2 separate regions of the Homo sapiens genome follow, and region 2 is linked to region 1. The links are contacts of gene promoters, found by promoter capture Hi-C in blood cells and fetal thymus (Javierre and others, 2016). All regions are on one chromosome and are shown on one strand. Each heading gives the region's core, a stretch centred on a gene start or on the middle of the fragment in contact. The rest is flanking DNA. Distances are from core to core; before and after follow the strand shown. Region 1 holds the start of NUP85 (nucleoporin 85). Region 2 holds the start of OTOP3 (otopetrin 3).

Evidence for each region. Contacts are between HindIII fragments. The CHiCAGO score rates a contact against its expected background, and 5 or more counts as called.
Region 2: a contact is called between the fragment with the promoter of OTOP3 here and the fragment with the promoter of NUP85 in region 1, in 2 of 17 cell types (neutrophils and non-activated CD4 T cells). The highest score is 8.0, in neutrophils.

What each region holds. Positions count from the first base shown.
Region 1 is chr17:75,202,332-75,207,066 of GRCh38, reverse strand. It overlaps NUP85 (nucleoporin 85), which reads right to left and starts at 1,388. Exons shown (of 19, transcript NM_024844.5): 1 at 1,273-1,388. The coding sequence starts at 1,305. RefSeq lists enhancers at 1,377-1,556, 715-1,648, 1,649-2,583. The HindIII fragment of the contact is 9,089 bases long and covers 1-4,735 here.
Region 2 is chr17:74,933,046-74,937,760 of GRCh38, reverse strand. It overlaps OTOP3 (otopetrin 3), which reads right to left and starts at 1,863. Exons shown (of 7, transcript NM_001272005.2): 1 at 1,821-1,863. The coding sequence starts at 1,839. It overlaps OTOP2 (otopetrin 2), which reads right to left. Exons shown (of 7, transcript NM_178160.3): 7 at 3,849-4,386. The coding sequence ends at 4,216. The HindIII fragment of the contact is 16,590 bases long and covers 1-4,715 here.

The DNA.
Region 1 (4,735 bases), core at 139-2,638:
TCTGTTGATTCTGACAATGTCAACTACCAGCTTATCTTCACAAGTAAAAGACCAGAAATCGGCCGGGTGCGGTGGCTCACGCCTGTAATCCCAGCACTTTGGGAGGCCGAGGTGGGCGGATCACGAGGTCAGGAGATTGAGACCATCCTGGCCAACACGGTGAAACCCCGTCTCTACTAAAAATACAAAAAAGTACAAAAAATTAGCCGGGCGTGGTGGCGGGCACCTGTAGTCCCAGCTACTCAGGAGGCTGAGGCAGGAGAATGGTGTGAACCCGGGAGGCGGAGGTTACAGTGAGCCGAGACCGCGCCACTGCACTCCAGCCTGGGAGACAGAGCGAGACTCCGTCTAAAAAATAACAGTAATAATAACCATAATCCCTCTACCTACCCTGAGATGAATGCATACATAAAATTTTCCTCTGCTCCCTCTTTTCACAGGTAAAATGCAGATTTACTGAGGCTAATCACCGACTCACAAGAATGTAATCATTTGCCTCCTCACTGCCTAACCTCCCTTTTTTGCCCCTCCTGCTAGCTCCTTCCTCTTTAACTAGTGATGTTCCCAAAACCATCTTTGGAAAAAGCACAGGTCTCAGATCCTCCTGTGACCTGTGCTTTTTCCCGGTTGGATCCTCAACCTTAGCTAATTAAACCTTTATCGGTTGAGACCTGCCTCAGTCACTTCTGGTTAACAAGAGGGAAAACAAGAGCAATCCAACTAGCAGAAACGGTAGGTATCTCGTACATAAAGCGCGTGAATTTTTTTTATACACATCACAGATCATCCACAGTTGACATACTGTCTTCAAAGTTCAAATGGAATTGAATGCACAGCGATAAAACAGGAATAGTCTCCTGAGATAATACGTTGAATAAACCTTAGGCCACACAGGCAGAAGCTCAATGTGCCGCGATGCAGAGCTTAATACGGCTGGAATAAAAATATAAATTCCTCTGCTTGGGCTGAACCCACTCTAATGCCCAAGAGGAAAAGCAAGGGAAGTAAAAAGGCCAGGAACACAAAGGAAGGAAAGGGACGGAGTGGGACCTTCGAGGCCGGGGTTTGTGACTGGTGGCAGAAACCCCGCGACCACTGCGACCCTAGGGCGGGCACCTCGTTAACACTGCGACCTCCGGAAAAGTGGCAACTGAGTCGAGGGAAGGGGACGAGCGCCTCGCGACCACTAGGGAAGCAGACAAGCCTGAAGTAACTAAGCAGACGCAGTTCTCAACCCGCAAGGACGAGCAAGCCTGTTCGGGGTACCCTTACAGTGACTGTTGGCTCGCCATCGAGCTCCTCCATAGCGCCGAACCCCAGGCTCCTAGAAGTCGCTCGGACGCCAATGCTTCCCGCTCAGGCCTCCCGCTCAGAGCTGGCTGCGAGACAAGACTCCGCCTGGGCGTCTCCTGCAGCGCCTGCAAGCCCAAACCCTCAGTGCTGCGGCGCTGTCTCCTCTCAGCCACGGCCACCCCTCTGCGGTCCTCTGCACGCGTCCTTCCTTCCTGGCGTCGACAGCAAATCAGGGAAAACAGCGCCGAGGACTGACTGCACTCAGAGTACCGCGCTAACAGGATCAGGCGGCGCCGGGGACACCCTGGTGCCGAGCGGAGAAAAGGCCCCCGGAGACGGCGGGAGGGGCAGGAGGACCCCGGGGCTGGAGACGGTGCGAATGCGCGTGCGTAGGCTGGGGCGGCGGCACTTGGGTGGGAACTCGTGCGGGATTTAGGTCCCAGTAAGCGTACAACGTCTCCCAACTCTGGGAGTCCTCGCTACATCCCGGTCTCCACCTTAGTGTCGTCGCAGCCACTTGTCCAAACCCCGACAGTCAAACGGGCTTGTGCTGGAAAGCAATCGCCTCCACTTCCACACTAGAACACACACAAGAGGCACGGGAACAAAATCGATACCCCTGAAGGCCCGGCGCTGTGGCTCAAGCCTCTAATCCCAACACTTTGGCAGCCCAAGGTGGGTGGATCACTGGAGTTCAGGAGTTCAAGACCAGTCTGGCCAATATGATGAAACCTCGTCTCTACTAAAAATATAAAAAATTAGACGGGCGTGGTGGCGGACACCTGTAATTCCAGCTACTCGGAAGGCTGAGGCAAGAGAATTGTTCCAACCCGGGAGGTGGAGGTTGCATTGAGCCAAGATCGCACCACTGCACTCCAGCCTGGGAGACAGAGCGAGACTCCGTCTCAAAAAAAAAAAAAAAAATTAGCTGTGCTTGGTAGCGCGCGCCTGTAATCCCAGCACTCCGGGACGCCGAGGTGGTTGGATCACCTGAGGTCAGGAGTTCAAGACCAGCCTGGACAACATGGCGAAACCCCGTCTCTACTGAAAATACAAAAATTAGCCGGGAGTGGTGGCGGACACCTGTAATCCCAGCTACTCGTAAGGCTGAGGCAGGAGAATTGTTCCAACCCGGGAGGCGGAGGTTGCAGTGAGCCAAGATCGCGCCACTGCACTCCATCCTGGGCGACAGACGGAGACTCCGTCTCAAAAAAAAAAAAATTATTTTGCTGAGTCTCAAAAAAAAATTATTTTGCTCTTTTTCTCTTAATAAGTTTCCGTTATACCTCAAGTTGGAGTTATCGCCTGTGTAATTGAAAACTTTTCCAGAGTTAAATACAGTTTGAGAGTTAACCACTCTAGAGAGAGGAAGGGGAAAAGAGAGGGGAAGGAGCCACACTCTTTTAGAGAGAGGGGAGGAGAGGAAAGAGAAAAATAAGTTGTAAGATAATTGTTTCATTTTTCCAACCGTTTTCCATTAGGATTAACTGAAAAAGAAGGATACATAAACTACTTCATCAAAACCTTATTCTTAGAAATCTATAGAAAGGTTGAGGAAGGAAAAGGTCCATATATAGTATGCGTAATCAGTATATAGAACAAGGATAGGCCGGGCGCGGTGGCTCACGCCTGTAATCTCAGCGCTTTGGGAGGCCGAGGCGGGTGGATCACCAGGTCAGGAGAGAGAGACCATCCTGGCTAACACGGTGAAACCCCATCTCTACTAAAAATACAAAAAAAAAAAAAAAAAAAAAAAAAAATCAGCCGGGCGTGGTGGCGGGTGCCTGTAGTCCCAGCTCCTCGGGAGGCTGAGACAGGAGAATGGCGTGAACCGGGGAGGCGGAGCTTGCAGTGAACCGAGATTGCACCGCTGCACTCCAGCCTGGGCGACAGAGCGAGACTCCGTCTCAAAAAAAAAAAAGAACAAGGATAGCACTATTAGCTGTAGTTTTCCTTTTTCGCCCTTGTATTACTAAGCCTATTTGAATGATTGGGTAAAATGGTTGGTATATAGCAGTATTAGACCAAAGAATATTGCCAATACTTTTTCCTCAATGTTATCTAGCTCTTGGTCAGGCAATTTAACTACTTTTATTATCTTAAATGGCATTTTGTCAGCCTTAAAATAAAAATAATCAAGGAAATATAGCACTAAGATCTAACAAGCTCTCTCTCTCTTTTTTTTTTCTTTGTCTTTTTTTTTTTTTTTTTTTTTTTGTCTTTTTGAGACAGAGTCTTGCTCTGTCGCCAGGCTGGAGTGGAGTGGCACGATCTCGGCTTACTGCAACCTCCGTCTCCCGGGTTCAAGCGATTCTGCTGCCTAAGCCTCCCGAGCAGCTGGGACTACAGGCACACGCCACTACGCCGGGCTAATTTTTTATTTTTTAGTAGAGACGGGGTTTCGCCATATTGGTCAGGCTGGACTCGAACGCCTGACCTCAGGTGATCCACCCGCCTCAGACTCCCAAAGTGCTAGGGTTACAGGCATGAGCCACCGCACCCAGCCTGGTAAAGTCTTAAGTGGATACATTTCATGCAGCCTAATAAAACTAATGCTCCTGAACCGGGCACAGTGTACATTATTTAACAAAATCTCTGGCCTCAGCCTGGGCAACAGGGCAAGAGCAAGATGCTGTCTCAAAAAATAAAAAATAAAAAAAGGCCGGGCGCGGTGGCTCACGCCTATAATCCCAACACTTCGGGAGGCCGAGGCGGGCGGATTACCTGAGCTCAGGAGTTCAAGACCAGCCTGGGCAACAAGATGAAACCCCGTCTCCACTAAAATACAAAAAATTATTTGGTCATGGCGGTTGTGCGCCTGTAGTCCCAGCTACTGAGGCTGAGGCAGGAGAATCGTTTGAACCCTGGAGGCGGAGGTTGCAGTGAGCCAAGATCATACCACTGCACTCCAGCCCGGACGACAGTGTAAGACTCCCTCTCAAAAAAAAAAAAAAAAAAAAAAAAAAAAAAAAAAAAAAAAACTCTAGCTGGAACTAGTGGCACATACCTGTAGCCCTAGCTACAGCAAGAGGAAGGAGACTGAGGCCAGAGGATTTCTTGAGCCCAGGAGTTCAAGTCAAGGCTGCAGTGAACTACGATTGTTATAGCACTATACTCCAGCAAGACCCTGTTTCAAAAGCAACAATATGGCCAGGCGCAGTGGCTCACGCCTGTTATCCCAGCACTTTGGGAGGCCGAGGTGGGCGGATCACGAGGTCAGCAGTTCGAGACCAGCCTGGCCAATATGGTGAAACCCCGTCTCTACTAAAACTACAAAAATTAGGCATGGTGGCAGGCACCCGTAATCCCAGCTACTCCGGAGGCTGAGGCAGGAGAATCACTTGAACCCGGGAGGCGGAGGTTGCAGTGAGCCAAAACCATGCCATTGCATTCCAGCCTGGGTGACAGAGGGAGACTCCGTCTCAGAAAGAAAAAAAAAAAA
Region 2 (4,715 bases), core at 614-3,113, 270 kb after region 1:
GTCCTGCTTAACTTGGACCCCCCAAACCTAGTGCAGATGTGACATTCACCCAGTGATTGCCCACTGACTCTGGCATCTTTTGGGAAATTTTCAGCACCAGAGCTGTGGACAGAGACCCTTCCCATTAAACTCTTTCCGGGCTGGCTGGGGAGGAGACTCCCGATGATCTTTATCTTTCCCTCCTAAGCTCCCCCACCCAAATTGAGCAAGGCTGGGGCTCACCGGGATGTCTCCCTGCTCCATATATCCCAACTGTAACTGCTCTACTTCACCTTCCCCAAAACCTGCACCCTCTCCTCCAGCCCCCAAGCAGGGTAGATTAATGATCAAGTGCTCAGATTCCAGCACTTATTACCTCTGTCATCTTAGACTACTGAGACTACTACAGAGAGCTACTTAGACTCTGTGCCTGAGTGTTGTCATCTGCAAAACTGATATACAACTATGGAATAGTAGCTGGTGCATAGTAGATGCTCAATAAAGACTTCCGGAACGAGGCTGGCTGCAGTGGCTCACGCCTGTAATTCCAGCACTTTGGGAGGCTGAGGTGAGCGGATCCCTTGAGCCCAGGAGTTGGAGACCAGCCTGGGGAACATGGCAAAACCCTGTCTCTACAAAAAATACCAAACAATTAGCCAGGTGTAGTGGCATGCACCTGTAGTCCCAGCTACTCGGGAGGCTGATGTGGGAGGATTGCTTCAGCCTGGGAGGCTGAGGCTGCAGTGAGCTGTGATCGCCACAGTGAACTCCAGCCTGAGGGACAGAGTTAGACCCTGTCTCAAAAAAAAAAAAAAAAAAAGGGTGGGGGGGTGATGAATGCCGAATAGGGGCTTTGTCAGAATGACATGATTTAATACATGCACGAAGCACGGGCAGAGAGTAATGCCGGCAATGCCTGGCACCTGGAAAACTCAGTGTTGGCTATCTCTGCATTTCCTTCCAGTTCTTTTGAGGTCCTGGAGAGCTGGGAAGGGTCGGGATTACTGGTGAAATTTCAAGGGTGAATTTTATTCAGACTGGAGGCCTGGAGGGGACACTGGGGGACAAGGTTCCAGGTTCCCTTCCTCTGGGGTCTTTGCCCTGACAGTATCCCCCGTCTCCCACCCTGAAGTCCAGCCCTCCAAAGGCCGCTGGCGTGAGCCTTCAAAGGAGCGAATTTGGTCCCGGGCTGGGCAGGGGGCAGGAGTGGGCATTTAGGGGTCTCGGGCAGAAGGCTGGGGCAAGGGCACCTGGAACTGACAAGCAGTACTCTGCCGCCCCCTGGCACGCCCCTGGGCGCGACGCCAGTCCAAGGGAGGGCCGGGACACTGGACTGGTTTGTGGGTCTCGGCTGGATTGGCGATGAAAGCCGCGGAGCCGTCGGGCCCGGCGCCCGGCCCAGCAGCGCAGGGCCGGCTCCGAGGAGGCTGCTGAGTGCGGGCGCCCTCGGGATTTCCTTCCGAGCCATTTTAGGGACTGCGGGGCCGGGGCAGCCGCTTCCTGCGTGCCCCAGACCGGGCGTCCAGACAGCCCCAACCAACCTCACACCCCAGGCCTCCGCGCTTTCTGCTGTGTGGACCCGGCCGGGAGGAGTCGCGCCCTGAGGCCCTCTGTGCTCCCCGGGTCCACGGAAAGGAGTAGGGGCGCGGAGCGCGGGTTGCGGGGCGGGTGGAGGGGCCGGCCTCAGATTAAAGGGAGTTCACCTCTCCACAGTCACCCCGCTTTCCCGTTCCAATCCCTGCAGCCCCTACTTGTGAACCCCCCTTTTGGGGGGGTGGGTAGTATGTGCCAGTGTCTGGGGTGCGCAAGCTGGGAAAGTTCCGCCGGCGCTCCGGGCTTACCTGAGGCCGGGAGAGGCATCGCCGTGGGCTAACCACCGACTGCGGGCGCTGAGCGGATCGTCCGTCCAGGTGAGACCGATGCCCGCGACGCCCTCCCCCAGCGGGACTGCGCAGCCGCCGCTCGGGCTCCGCGGCCCATCGATTTTTCTGTTGACTTTGGAAATCTCATTAATCCCTCGTTAATTACCCTCCCGGGGGCTCGGACCCAGAGGGTGCAGCCAATTGCGAGGCAGCTGGACAAGCGGGCGGGGCTGAGGGCTGTGCAGGCGCGGGCCTGCAGGGTCTCCAACTCGCAGCCCGCCCTCGGATGGGGTGGAGAGGGGTGCAGTGTTCTTAGGTCCGCAGTAAAGAGCTTGCGGAATTCAGGCCTCGTTTTCCTTTGGTGATCAAGCTGGGAATGGACGCCCTCCCTCCAGGCCTGGAGTCGCTTTTTCCTGTACCCTACCTAGCCCCAGGCCTGGAGGCCGCCTAGCAGGACCCTGTGTTTCCCTTAAGTCAAACCTGAACTTGGTGGGGAGAGTTGGAGCACAGCCCCATTCTGACAGGGGAGGAGGCCTCCTCAGCTCCACCTGCGGCCTCTGAGAACTACTCACCTCCTTCTGCTGACAGGGTCCAGGCACACTTTCCTCAAAGTCCCCTGAGCTCCCAGTGCTGCTGTTCCCATGATCTCCCCCAAATGCCATCTGCTCCATGGGTCCCGCCCAGCCCTCCCTCTCCCAGCCCTTCCCCTCCCTCTGCCTCTGCATGCTCACCACCACCTTTCACTCTTCTAACTGTGGAGCCTCCTTCCCATCTCTCTGCTGTCTTCCCTCCTAAGCATCTCTATACCCTTTGTAGAGTAGAAACCCTAGGGCTTAGGGGAAACTCCTCGGGGACCTCCTGGGGCAGGGGGAAGTCAAGTGGTGAGGATCTGAGACTCCCAACTCCTTTTAAATTAGAACTGCCTTGTTTATATCTTTTTTGTTTGTTTGTTTTTGTTTTTGTTTTAGACAGGCTGGAGTGCAGTGGCATGATCTCGGCTCACTGCAACCTTTGCCTCCTGGGTTCAAGTGATTCTCCTGCCTCAGCCTCCTGAGTAGCTGGGATTACAGGCGCACGCCACCATGCCCGGCTACTTTTTGTATTTTTTAGTAGAAACAGAGTTTCGCCATGTTGGCCAGGCTGGTCTCGAACTCCTGACCTCAAGTGATCTGCCTGCCTCGGCCTCCCAAAGTGCTGGGATTACAAGCGTGAGGCACTGCACACAGCCTATATCTATGTTATAAACTTGTGTTCCTGTAATATTTTATTTGAAGGGAAAAATGTTCTGCTTGAAAACAAAGTTTGAAAATTATTGTTCTTAGCAGAAAGGCTCTGGATTTTTTGCAGGTGTGTGACCTTGGGCAAGTCACTTTACCTCTCTGGGCCTCAGCTTCCTTCTTTGTAAAATGCAGACATTAGACTAGGTCACTGCTTCCTAAACTTTCTTCTGTCATGGGACACACACAAAGAAAATGATTAGGTTGAGTGCTGTGGCTCATGCCTGTAATCCCAGCACTTTGGGAGGCTGAGGGGGGAGGATCACTTGAGCCCAGGAGTTCAAGACCAGACTGGGCAACACAATGAGACCCTCATCTCCACACACACACACACACACACACACACACACACAATTTAGCCAGGCGTGGTGGCAGTAGTAGCTGTAGTTCCAGCTACTCAGGAGGCTGAAGTGGGGGGGTCTCTTGAGTCCAGGAGGTTAAGGTTGCAGTGATCTATCTGCACTCCAGCCTGGGCAAAAAGGTGAGACACTCTCTCAAAAAAAAAAAAAAAAAAAGATTATATGTATATGCCACCTGGAGATAAAGGGAAGAGGAAGATGGCAGTTTGGGAACTCCAGTTACCCACCCTGTAGCTAGTCTGTCATTTGGATTTTGCTCACACACTGCAAAACTTGAGACCTGAAAATCTCCAGGGGCCCTTCCCGCTCTGACTCCCAAGATCCTCTCCTGTGACCACCTCAGACGGGACAACAGAGACAAACAGTGGGGATGGGGGCAAATCACAGGTTTATTGGTTTCCAGCTCCGGGCAGTACACTGGCCAGGCCACAGCAGGGGATTAGAGATGGAACCAGAGCCGGCACCTCCAGATCTTGTTGGGTCCTAGAAATGCTGCCAGGAGAGGTCTCCCTTCCCCAGTCACCTCATGCCCCACGGTCATACTGGGGTGGATGGGCCTGTCCTGACTGTGATTTAAAAATTGAACCTGGAAAAATAACTTTTGTGAAAATTCCACTCTGGGACCAGAAGGAAATGGGCTGTCATATGGCACCAGCTGGGATTCATTCCCAGAGGGTGTCTGAGTGGGCACATGAGCTGAGCCCCCTCTTCCTGCCCCCCATGCCTCTGTTGGAGGCCTCAGGACAGCACGTAGACCTCCAGCAGGCTGGACACAGCGTGCATGCGGTAGAAGATGCCGAAAGGGAGGCAGATGTTGACGATGACCGCCCAGAGGGAGTAGCCGTAGAAATCCACCTCCACTGTGTTGCTGAAATGAGGGCGGGCCCCGAAGGCAGGCATGATCCACAGCTGTGTGGAGAGAGGAGCATTTCAGGAGCTGGCCTGGATGGATGCCTGTGGGTCATTTCTGTGGGTTTTGCTGGGCCGTGGCTAGATGGCGGCCCATCCTTCTAGCTTGGTGGACACGGAGGGCTGGGTGTCAGTGAATGGGCAGCTCTAGCATTTTGGACAGGACCTAGCACACTCTAAGGGGCTCAGGAAGTGAGCCCAACTGAATTCGCCATCCCTAGGCTAGCCCACCTCATGGACACCTGTGATCACCTCTCCCAAAATCTTAGCAGGGCCTCAATGTGGGATTGGGGAGGGGAGAAGAGGTTTCTCTAGAAGAAGAGGTACAA